Regions from separate parts of the Homo sapiens genome. Here regions 1 and 2 are each linked to region 3. The links are contacts of gene promoters, found by promoter capture Hi-C in human tissues and cell types (Jung and others, 2019). All regions are on one chromosome and are shown on one strand. The core of a region is centred on a gene start or on the middle of the fragment in contact, and the rest is flanking DNA. Distances in the headings are between cores, read along the strand shown. Region 1 overlaps UNC13A (unc-13 homolog A). Region 2 overlaps FCHO1-AS1 (FCHO1 antisense RNA 1). Region 3 holds the start of UNC13A (unc-13 homolog A).

The links. Contacts are between HindIII fragments. The study calls those that stand out against the background at their distance.
Region 1: a fragment that was not itself captured here is called in contact with the fragment with the promoter of UNC13A in region 3 in 4 of the 25 tissues and cell types used here (bladder, mesenchymal stem cells, small bowel and 1 more).
Region 2: a fragment that was not itself captured here is called in contact with the fragment with the promoter of UNC13A in region 3 in 1 of the 25 tissues and cell types used here (mesenchymal stem cells).

The regions. Positions count from the first base shown.
Region 1 is chr19:17,646,077-17,648,576 of GRCh38, reverse strand. It overlaps UNC13A (unc-13 homolog A), which reads left to right. Exons shown (of 44, transcript NM_001080421.3): 16 at 1-146; 17 at 1,085-1,312; 18 at 2,466-2,500. Among named protein-coding and RNA genes, the nearest start is that of UNC13A, 41 kb to the left of the region's middle. The HindIII fragment of the contact is 7,628 bases long and covers 1-2,500 here.
Region 2 is chr19:17,741,275-17,745,445 of GRCh38, reverse strand. All of the region lies in intron 3 of FCHO1-AS1 (FCHO1 antisense RNA 1), which reads left to right. Among named protein-coding and RNA genes, the nearest start is that of FCHO1-AS1, 8.0 kb to the left of the region's middle. RefSeq lists an enhancer at 1,292-1,586. The HindIII fragment of the contact is 3,992 bases long and covers 901-4,171 here.
Region 3 is chr19:17,686,352-17,690,983 of GRCh38, reverse strand. UNC13A (unc-13 homolog A) reads left to right here and starts at 2,630. Exons shown (of 44, transcript NM_001080421.3): 1 at 2,630-2,806. The coding sequence starts at 2,785. RefSeq lists a silencer at 3,112-3,294 and enhancers at 2,528-3,488, 3,489-4,450. The HindIII fragment of the contact is 19,419 bases long and covers 1-4,632 here.

The sequences.
Region 1 (2,500 bases), core at 1-2,500, 41 kb after region 3:
AGTGTGGACGGCCACCACGCCCACCTACTGCTACGAGTGCGAGGGGCTGCTGTGGGGCATCGCGAGGCAGGGCATGCGCTGCACCGAGTGCGGTGTCAAGTGCCACGAGAAGTGCCAGGACCTGCTCAACGCCGACTGCCTGCAGCGTGAGCGCAGGGCCTGAGCGCAGGGCCACGGGTTGGCGTGGGGAGCCCCGGGGCTTGCATGGCGGGGAAAGGCTGAAGGGCAAGGCGATGGGTGGGGCACCATGGGGCGGGGCAAGGGGCGGGGCGTCGTGAGGCAGGGGAGGGACTCGCTGAAAGGGAGGGGTGGGGTTAAAGGCGCAGGACTCCCTGGTGGAAGGGCTAGGGGGTCGAGGGGTGGGGAAAGAAGCTGTGAGGGTGTCAGAGAGGGGTGGGGCAGGGCTCAGGGACTAGCTAGGTTGTGCAAAGGACAGGCTTAGTGAGAAGAGGCAGCTCCCCTGGATAAAATGGGTTAGCTAGGGGTAGCTCTGAGAGGAAGAGGGGCTCAGAGAGGGAAGGGGTTCAGACTGCGAGAGGACTGTGGAGGGGGGGATTGGAAGGGGGAGGGGACTCAGAGGAGGTGGGACCAAGAGAAAGGGAGGGGTCTGAGAGATGGAAGGGGCTCAGGAATGTGGAGGGGACTCGCAGGGGTGGAGATCAGAGACGAGGAGGGGATTCAGAGGAGTGGGGCTCAGAGAGGCAGCGGGACTCAGAGGGGTGGGACTCAGAGAGGGGGCGGAGATTCAGAGGGGTGGGACGCAGAGGGGGCGGGGACTCAGAGGGGTGGGGCTTAGGGAAGAGGCCTTAGAGGGGTGGGGCTCCAAAAACCAGTGGGGACTCCAAGGGGTGCGGGGCAGAGAAGGGCAGGACGCAGGGACATGGCGACTCAGAGGAGCATGGCTCCGAGAGGAGGTGGAAGGGTGAAGGGTCTGGGTGGGGGGTACAGAAAGCAGGTAGGAAACCGGCTTCAGGGGGTGACACCTGAGTCCCCCCGGTTGATGAGTAGGGGCGGGGCTCTCGCCTTGGTGAGGGGCCACTATGCAGGGCGCGCTGGGGTCAGCGCCGGCCTCGGGCGTCCTCAGGGGCTGCGGAGAAGAGCTCCAAGCACGGGGCGGAGGACCGGACACAGAACATCATCATGGTGCTCAAGGACCGCATGAAGATCCGGGAGCGCAACAAGCCCGAGATCTTCGAGCTCATCCAGGAGATCTTCGCGGTGACCAAGACGGCGCACACGCAGCAGATGAAGGCGGTCAAGCAGAGCGTGCTGGACGGCACGTCCAAGTGGTCCGCCAAGATCAGCATCACCGGTGAGGGGGCGTGGGCCGCCATAGGGCCCCTCCTTCTCCACCCTCTGAGACCTGTCTCATGCCCTGTCCCATGGCCTGGTCCCTCTCCTTTGCAGCGCGCACTCACTCGGTCGGGTGCATTCCATCTCATCTCCGTGTGTGCACGCATATGGGGGGACATGCGTGCCTCCAAACGCCTGTTCATGGCACTGTATCTGGGTGCGTCTTGGATGGTGCCCTCCAGAATGAGACTCCAAGAAGAGGAATTGAGGGTGCATGGTTTATCTGGAAAGTGACCCCAGAAAGTCCTGGTGAGGGGCAAGGACTTGAGACAGGGATGGAAGGAGTCCTGAAGGAGATGCCGTTGAGCAGACAATGCTGTGGGCAAGGGGGTCAGCCCATCCTGGGGCCACTGGGGACAATGTCGAGCATGCAGCTCAGTGTGGCCCCACTTAGGGGCGAGGATACTGGCTTTTCTCCACACCCAGCCTCATGTGGGTTTCCCCATAAACAGACCTGAGGATGAGGATTTCAGGTTATGTGGGTTATCCAGGAAGTGACCCCAGGACGGAGCTGGGGTGGTAAGTCAGGGAGGGAAGGAACCCTGCAGGGGGCACCAACGAGCAGGAGATCTCGGGGGGCAATGGGTTCTTGTAAGTGTCTGACCTCAGGGAGTTCACACCTGAGAGAGGTCCTACCCATGCGCAAGGCAGCTGGGGCACCTTCCCATCCTTCATGGTTTGGGGACTCCTTCCCAGCACTTTGGGAGGCTGAGGCTGAGGCAGGCGGATCACCTGAGGTCAGGAATTCGAGACCGACCTGGCCAACATGGTGAAACCCCATCTCTACTAAAAATGCAAAACGATTGGCCGGATGGGGTGGCACGTGCGGGTAATCCCAGCTACTTGGGAGGCTGAGGCAGGAGAATTGCTTGAACCCGGGAGGCGGAGGTTGCACTCCAGCCTGGGTGACGAGCAAAACTCTGTCTCAAAAACAAACAAACAAACAAACAAACACACAAAAAACCTCTCTGGCAAGCCCAGCGTGCCCTGCCATTGCTCTCCAGCCATGCTGCAGGTGTCCCAATTATCAGCCTGCAGCGTGTGGCAGTGACTGTCCCCAGCATGCCTCGCTTCTTGAGTGCACACCTGTGTATGCCCTCTGTGTCTTCCAGTGGTCTGCGCCCAGGGCTTGCAGGCAAAGGACAAG
Region 2 (4,171 bases), core at 1,647-4,146, 54 kb before region 3:
TTTTTTTTTTTTGAGACAGAGTCTCACTGTTGGCCAGGCTGGAGTGCAATGGCACTATCTCGGCTCACTGCAACCTCCGCCTCCCAGGTTCAAGCAATTCTCCTGCCTCAGCCTTCCGAGTAGCTGGGATTACAGGCACCCACCACCACACCCAGCTAATTTTTGTATTTTTAGTAGAAATGGGGTTTCGTCATGTTGGCCAGGCTGGTCTCAAACTCCTGACCTCAGGTGATCTGCCTGCCTCGGCCTTCCAAGGTGCTGGGATTACAGGAGTGGGCCAGTGCGCCCGGCCCGCCTCCCACATGATTATCACCTTCCACTGGTATGGCCATTGGTTGCAATGTCTTTTTTCTGTCCTAGAATCTTACATGACACTTACTCCTCATGTCTCCTTAGGCTGTTCTGGGGTGTGACGGTTTGTCAAACTGTCTTGTTTTCGGGGACAGTTTTGAGGAATGGTGGTCAGGTGTTCTACAGAATGTCCCTCCATTGAGGTTTCTCTGATGTCTTTCTCACAGTTAAATGAGGGTAATGGATTTGGGGAAGGAAGACCACAGAGGTGAAGCACCCATCTCATCACACCATATCAAAGGTACAAACTGTCAACATGACTTACTCTGCTGGTGTTGACCTTGATTTCCTGGCCGAATGGCATCTGTCAGGTTTGGGGGCTTTTTTTAGTTTTTGTTTTGTTTGTTTGTTTTTTGTTTCTTTGTTTTCTTGAGACAGAGTCTCGCTCTGTTGCCAGGCTGGAGTGCAGTTGCGTGATCTCGGCTCACTGCAACAACCTCCGCTTCCCAGGTTCAAGCAATTCTCCTGCCTCAGCCTCCTTAGTAGCTGGGATTACAGGCGCCCACGACCACACCCAGCTAAGTTTTATATTTTTAGCAGAGACGGGGTTTCACCATATTGGCCAGGCTGGTCGTGAACTCATGACCTCAGGTTATCCTCCTGCCTCGGCCTCCCAATGTACTGGGATCACAGGCATAAACCACCACACCCGGCCAATGTGTACTTGTTACTGGGGTGACGTGTCTTGGAGGCCCTGTCTGCAGACAGAGCAGGGAGCTGTATGTGTGTATATATGTATATACACATATCTGTACATATTTTGCTGTAACTATCTATATTGGGTTGAACATGAGCTCAGCCTCCTCCCCTTGCCTGTCTGTGATCTTCTACTTTATCCCTGAGAAACCTGGCTCCCACTGTCAGCCCTCCAAAGTAGGAGGCAGGACTCAACTCCAGAGGTGGGGCTGCGACATTGGACCAAATTGAGGACTAGCTATTATAAAACAGACCCCCAGGGAAGGGGCTTTCCTTAAGACATGCCCACTGGTGTGCCATGTCAGTTTACCATTGCCATGACAACATGCAGAAGTTACCACCCTTTTCCATGGCAACAACCCTGATGACTCAGAAGTTGTCACCCTTTTCCTGGAAGTTTCTGCATACACTGCCCCTTAATTTGCATATATATACATATATATATATATATATATATATATATATTTTTTTTTTTTTTTTTTTTTTTTTTTTTTGAGATGGTATCTTGCTCTGTTGCCCAGGCTGGAGTGCAGTGGCATAATCTCAGCGCACCGCAACCTCTGCCTCCTGGGTTCAAGCGATTCTCCTGTCTCAGCCTCCTGAGTAGCTGGGATTACAGGCGCACACCACCATGCCTGGCTAATTTTTGTATTTTTAGTAGACACGGGGTTTCACCATGTTGGCCAGGCTGGTCTCAAACTCCTGACCTTAGGTGACCCACCCGCCTCAGCCTCTCAAAGCGCTGGGATTACAGACTTGAGCCACCACGCCTGGCCTTCATTTGCATATAATTAAAAGTGGGTATACATATGAGTGCAGCTGTGCCTGTGAGCTACTATTCTGGATGGACTGCCTATGCACAGTGGTCTTGCTCAGCAAGGAACAGCACCTCTGATGCTGCTCTACACGGCCATTTCAGTAAATGCCGCTGTTTAGGGCCAAGCGCGGTGTAATCCCAGCACTTTGGGAGGCTGAAATGGGTGGATCACCTGAGGTCAAGAGTTCGAGACCAGCCTGGCCAACATGGAGAAACCCTGTCTGTACTAAAAATACAGAAATTAGCTGGGCATGGTGGCTCATGCCTATAATCCCAGCTATTCGGGAGGCTGAGGCTGGAGGATTGCTTGAGTCAGGGAGTTGGAGGCTGCAGTGAGCTATCATCACACCACTGCACTCCAGCCTGGGCAACAGCGAGACTCTGTCTCAAAAAAAAAAAAAAAAAAAAAGCCAGACCAGACCTGGCGGTGGGCACCTGTAGTCCCAGCTACTGGAGAGGCTGAGGCACGAGATTTACTTGATACTGGGAGGTGGAGGTTGTAATGAGCCGAGATGGTGCCACTGCACTCCAGTCTGGGTGACAAGGCGAGACCCTGTCTAAAAAAAAAAAAAAAGAAAGAAAGAAAAGGCCAGGCATGGTGGCTCACACCTATAATCCCAGCACTTTGGGAGGCTGAGATGGGCGGATCACCTGAGGTCAGGAGTTCAAGACCATTCTGGCCAATATGATGAAGCCCCATCTCTACTAAGAACAAAAAAATTAGCTGGGTGTGGGGGCAGGCACCTGTAATCCCAGCTACTTGGAAGGATGAGGCAGGAGAATTGCTTGAACCCAGGAGGCAGAGGTTGCAGTGAGCCAAGATCATGCCATCACACTCCAAGAGCTAAACTCCATCTCAGAAAAAAAGAAGAAGAAGAAAATGTTGCTGTTTACCAGCCTGGGCAACATGGCCGAACCCCATCTCTACAAAAAAAAAAAAAAAAAAAAAATACAAAAATTAGGCCAGGTGCGGTGGCTCAAACCTGCAATCCTGGCACTTTGTGAGGCCCAGGTGGGAAGATCACGTGAGCTCAGGAGTTTGAGACCAGCCTGGGCAAAATGGTGAAACCCTGCCTGTGCCAAAAATACAAAAAATTAGCTGGGCTCCATGGCTTGTGCCTGTAGACCCAGCTACTTGGGAGGCTGAGGTGGGAGGATCCCTTGAGCCCAGGAGGCAGAGGGAGCAGTGAGCGGAGATCATGCCACTGCACTCCAGCCTGGGTGACAGAGCAAGACGACCCCATCTCAAAAAAAAAATTAGGTGGGCATGGTGGACTGTGCCTGTGGTCCAAGCTTCTCAGGAGGCTGAGGTGGGAGGACTCCTGGAGGCTGCAATGAGCCAAGATCATGGCACTGCACTCCAACATGGGCATGAGAGTGAGACCCTATCTTAAAAAAAAAAGAAAGGAAAAAAGAAAAAGAAAAGTTGCTGTTTAACACAATTGACTTGCCCTCAAATTCCTTCCTGGGTGAAGCCAAGAACCCTCTCAGACTAAGCCCCAATTTTGAGGCTTGCCTGTCCTATCACCTTCACGTGCTCAGCTGTTCCATTGAAGTGCATGTGTGTAGCAATTCCAGAATGTTTAACTGGGACCCACAGTGGGGTTTCAAACAGAAACTGCTCACCTTTTTCTCCAGCTTGAAACACTCCCCAGACTCCCCAGCACTCTTGGTAAAAACTGCAAACCTGTCTCAGCAGCCCATCATGCTTATGGGGTCCGGCCCTCCCTACATTCCTGTCCTCACCTCTCTCTACCCACCTCAATGCAGGGGGCACAAAAGCCGTTCCACCTCAGGGTGCATCTGACTGGTAACTTTCCTACCTTGAGCTCTTAGTTCCTGTTTGGTCCCCTCCTCCAGGAAGCCCTCCATCTGGCCTCCCAGGCTCCTTTCCCAACTTTAGCTCTTATGGTCCCTTCCTCCAGGAAGCCCTCCATCTGGCCTCCCAGGCTCCTTTCCCACCTTTAGCTCTTGTGGTCCCCTCCTCCAGGAAGCCCTCCTTCTGGCCTCCCAGGCTCCCGTCCCACCTTTAGCTCTTAGTTCCTATGTGGTCCCCTCCTCCAGGAAGTCCTCCTTCTGGCATCCCAGATTTCCTTCCCACCTTTAGCTCTTAGTTCCTATGTGGTCCTCTCCTTCAAGAAGCCCTCCAGCTAGCTTCCCAGGCTCCTGAAAACCCATCTGGTTTTCCTTCCAAGCCAGTGCTGATCCCCCAGGACTGGGATGTTATGTTAGGCATTGCCCCCTCCCCCTCCAGCCTGGGAGCTTCTTGGGGGCCCTGGCCCTGGTACTATCCACACCTGTCAGGTG
Region 3 (4,632 bases), core at 1,381-3,880:
ATGGAGGTGCATGCCTGTTGTTCCAGGTACTTGGGAGGCTGAGACAGGAGGATTGTCTGAGCTCAGGAGCTCACACCACTGTACTACAGCCTGGGTGACACAATGAGACCTTGTCTCAAAAAAATAGAAACATGCAAGAGGTAACCATGTATTGTTTGCTAAGGAGCATGTGGTAAACTATAAGGAAAAGGAAGAAAATGAAAAACAAAATTTGTGATAGTTCTTCCATCTGCAGGGAAGGATTATGAGATTGGGGAGAGGCACATGGGGGTCTTTTATTGTGATGGTATTTTTTTTTTTTTTTGAGACGGAGTCTCTCTCTGTCACCCAGGCTGGAGTACAGTGGCCCGATCTCGGCTCACTGCAAGCTCCGCCTCCCGGATTCACGCCTTTCTCCTGCCTCAGCCTCCTGAGTAGCTGGGAATACAGGCGCCCGCCACCACGCCCGGCTAATTTTTTGTATTTTTAGTAGAGACGGGTTTTACCGTGTTAGCCAGGATGGTCTCGATCTCCTGACCTTGTGATCACCCCGCCTCAGCCTCCCAAAGTGCTGGTATTATAGGCGTGAGCCACCGAGCCCGGTCGATGGTAATTTTTTTTATCCAAGCCTGCTCCTCATAGTTTATCTACTCATTGATGTTTAATAAAACATCAATGTTTTATTGATTATCAATGTTTAATAAAACATCTACTCATTGATGTTTAATAAAAATTTAAGACCAGGCATGGTGGCTCATGAGCCTGTAATCCCAACATTTTGGGAGGCTGAGACGGGAGGATCACTTGAGCCCAGGAGTTTGAGACAGCCTGTGCGACATGGTGAAACTCTGTCTCTACAAAAAATACAAAAATTAGCTGTGCTGATTTTTTTAAAAATTTAAAGCAGTGACAGATACAAACATGGTTACTATTAGGCATTAAGATTACAACTGGGGCCAGGCGCGGTGGCTCATTCGTGTAATCCCAGCATTTTGGGAGGCCACGGTGGGTGGATCACTTGAGGTCAGGAGTTTGAGACCAGCCTGGCCAACATGGTGAAACCCCATCTCTACAAAAAATACAAAAAAATTAGCTGGATGTGGTGGCGAGCGCCTGTAATCCCAGCTACTCAGGAGGCTGAGGCAGGAAGATCACTTGGAGGTTGAGGTTGCAGTGAACTGAGATGGTGCCACTGCACTCCAGCCTGGGCCACAGATTGAGACTACACCTCCAAAAAAAAAAAAATTACAACTGGTTTCACATGTTAACTCATGTAATACCTCCAGCAACCTTGTGAGGCAGGACTTGTTATCATATTCATTCTACAGGTGCGGAAACTGAGGCACGAGGAGGTCACAAGACCTGCCCAAGGCCATGCTTGTGATGAGAGACAGAGTTTGGTTTTGAACAATGGCCTCACTCAACTCCATGCACATTCTGCATTTATGAAGCTCTTTCATGTGGGCTGGGGGCAGGAGACCCTGTGGGGCTCAGCCTTTCATGCTAGTTTAGGTGCCAGTGATACAGCGAGCAGGTTGCAGGGCAAGGGGCCCACATGGAGCTGCCCAGTTTGATATGTGGGGAGGGGGCCAGGCGCAGTGGCTCAGGTCTGAATCCCAGCACTTTGGGAGGCCGAGATGGGCGGATCCCCTGAGGTCAAGTGTTCAAGACCAGGCTGGCCAACATGGTGAAACCTCGTCTCTACTAAAAATAAAAAAAATAAAATAAAAAAAAAAAGCTGGGCATGGTGGCATGCGCCTGTAGTCCCAGCTACTCGGGGAGGCTGAGGCAGGAGAATCTCTTGATCCCAGGAGGCAGAGGTTGCAGTGAGCCAAGATTGCGTCACTGCATTCCAGCCTGGGCTGCAGAGGGAGACTCCATCTAAAAAAAAGAAAAGTGGGGAGGAGTGGCAGAGTTTCGTTCGGGTCAGGGCCCAATCAGAGGAAGGGATAGGGGCTGGGGGAGTCCAGAGAGGAGAAACAAAGGCTCAGCTTGGGGCAGTCAGGGAAGCCTTCCTGGAGGAGAGGATATTCAGACAAGACATTGATGGATGAAAAGGAGTTCAGAGTGTGGGCAAGGACCCATGGGCTGGATGGCTTAGAGACATAGAGAGAGACCTAGACAGGATGCAGTAGAGCTGCAAAAAGACTTTACAGAGAGAGGCTAAGAGACACATGACTGAGAGAGCAGTGGACAGAGTCAGAGGAACAGAGACCCAGGGAGAGAAAGAGACCAGGCAGTAGAGTTAGAGAGACAGAGACGTAGAGACAGAGGAAGAGAGATACTCAGAGAACAGGACCATCTGCCCGGTGCTGGTGCCGGGCGTACACACAAGAGCTTGCATTTGCCTGTACTTGCTTGAGTATTGCAGGGAGGCGTTTGCCCAGGTTACCAGGGCAGGAATGTCCATGCATGGGTGGCGGGGGCACGTGCACCATTTCAGTGCAGGTGAGGGTCTGCACAGGAGGAAACCTGCTTGGGGGCCGCCGTCGCCCCTTGTCCCCCTGCAACGAGGAGGTGTGGGGCGAGGCGCCCCTTCCCGGAGCCAGGCCCTTTAACGCCCCCCCAGCCCGCAGCGCCCCCGCCCCATCAGGCGTCCCTGGGCTCCGCCTGCCCGCCCCGCATCAGCGCCACGTCAGGCGCTGTCCGCGCCCCCGGTGCTGAACCAAGATGGCCGGTGGCGGCCGGGCCCCGGCGTGAGCCAAGCGCGGGCTGCAGCCGGGAGATGCCCCAGCCCAGCGGCCGCTGAGCCCGACCCGACAGAGCCGGCCCGGCCGCCTCCGGCCCACCTGCGAGCTCGGAGACATGTCTCTGCTTTGCGTTGGAGGTAGGAGGCGAGGCTGGGGGTCGGGGGACCCGTGTGGACGCGGGCTGGGGTCGGGGTCCGCGTGGATGCGGCTCCCAGGGGGTTCCTGGGGGGTGACCCGAGTCCAGGTGGCTGGACTTTTGAGAGGGGTAGCCCTTGTCGACGCAGCTGGGCCCCGGAGGGGGTGATCCGTGTAGACGCGGCAGGGCTCTCGGGGGTCCTGGTGGCCGCTGCTGGAGGGGTCGTGTGGACGCGGCTGAACGCGGAGGCCCGTGTGGACGTGGACGGGTATCCGGGGTTCTACCCGGAAACGATCTAGACTGGGGCGTCTGTGTAGACCAGGTTTTTAGAGGGTCAGTGAGGAAGAGTCTGGGCTCGGTAGTTTGATTGAAGCCTGCAGGGGTGCTTGGAAGGGGTCTGGTGTTGTGGGCTGGGTTACGGGTCCTCATGGACGCGGACCCGGCTGGAAATTCGAAGGAGAGTGCGGTGGGAGGGTTCTCCAAGCCGTGGGGATGTAAGATATAGGTAGAGGGGCTTGGCCATCAGGGCATCCACGAGTTCTAGGACTCTCCCAGCCCTAGGTGTAAAGAGGACTGGAGTGGGGGGAGTGTGGAGACAGGAGACCCCTCCCAGCGTCCAGAGAGGGCTGTGACTGGAGGTCTGGGGGCGCTTTTCCAGTTAACTCTTTGGCCTCCCGAGTGAGGGGGTTGGAGGAATGTCCAGAAGGTCTTCCCGCTCCCTGCCCCCTCCGGTTCTCCCAAACACGTTTCAGGGCCTTCTCGGCAGGGAGCCTACTTCTTGGAAGAGCAATGTCTCCTGGTCCCCCTCCTGGCCCATCCTCACCTCACCCACTTTGCACTGGAGAGAGGGAGGGAGGGAGACGTGAGGTGGGGGGGGAGCTATTTTGGGGCCAGAACGCCATCTGCACAGAGGCCCACGCCCAGGCCCACGCTCTGCGTTGGGGTTGGAGGAGGGAGGGAGACGTGGGAGGGGCATGACCCCCCACCCCACACCTTTATGGCTCTGGGGTCGTGGGGAAGCCAGCCCAACCGAACCCAGGCGTTCTGGGCACTCCCGTTTGAGAAATCAAACTCTGGGAGACCTTGGGCGGCAGGGGTGGATGTGGACCGCCGTTCCACGCCTACAGAGCTCTGAACCCCTGGTTCTTAAGGACTGGGGTCCCCCCGTCACTCCCACCCATTTCAAGAAGGCTGGGGTGGGGGAAGGGGTGTGTCTGCCAAGCCTGAGACTGCAGGCTTCGGGAGACCTCGGGCGACAGGAAGCGTGCGTGTGCTGAACTCCTGCTGCCTGGACACAGGGTGGGCAGGCCGGGGAGCCGGGAACCGCCCCCGCCGCCCCTCCTCCTCCCTCCCCTCCCCCTCGGCCGATTCATTCACAAACCCTGCCCCGCCCGCCCGCTCCCCGCCGCGGCAGCTTCCGAGTGCAAATCCGGCCGGGCTGGGCCGGCGTGGACGCGGGTGTTCTTAAAGGGACAGGGGCCTACTTTCTCTAAGCTCGTTTCTGCTGGACGGGGCTGGGGGTGGTGGAAGAAGGGTCCCTAGAGTCAAAGGTCAACTCCTCCATCCCCTAGCCTCCAGGCCTATGGAGTTAGGGGAGTAGGGAAGTGAAGGAGACCCCTAGGCGACCCCCACCGCCTAGGCCTGAGGACGGAATGGGAGGAGAACTTGAATGTCCAGACCCCCTACTGACCTCTCCCCCTGCTCTAAGTAGCCGGGCTCTTAAAGGTGGCACTGGAGGAGGTTCCGACGTGGGTGTTCTTGGCTGACTCCTCTATCCTCTCTCTTCTCCCCCCAGCATCCCGCCCCACCCCGCCTCACATCCTCCAA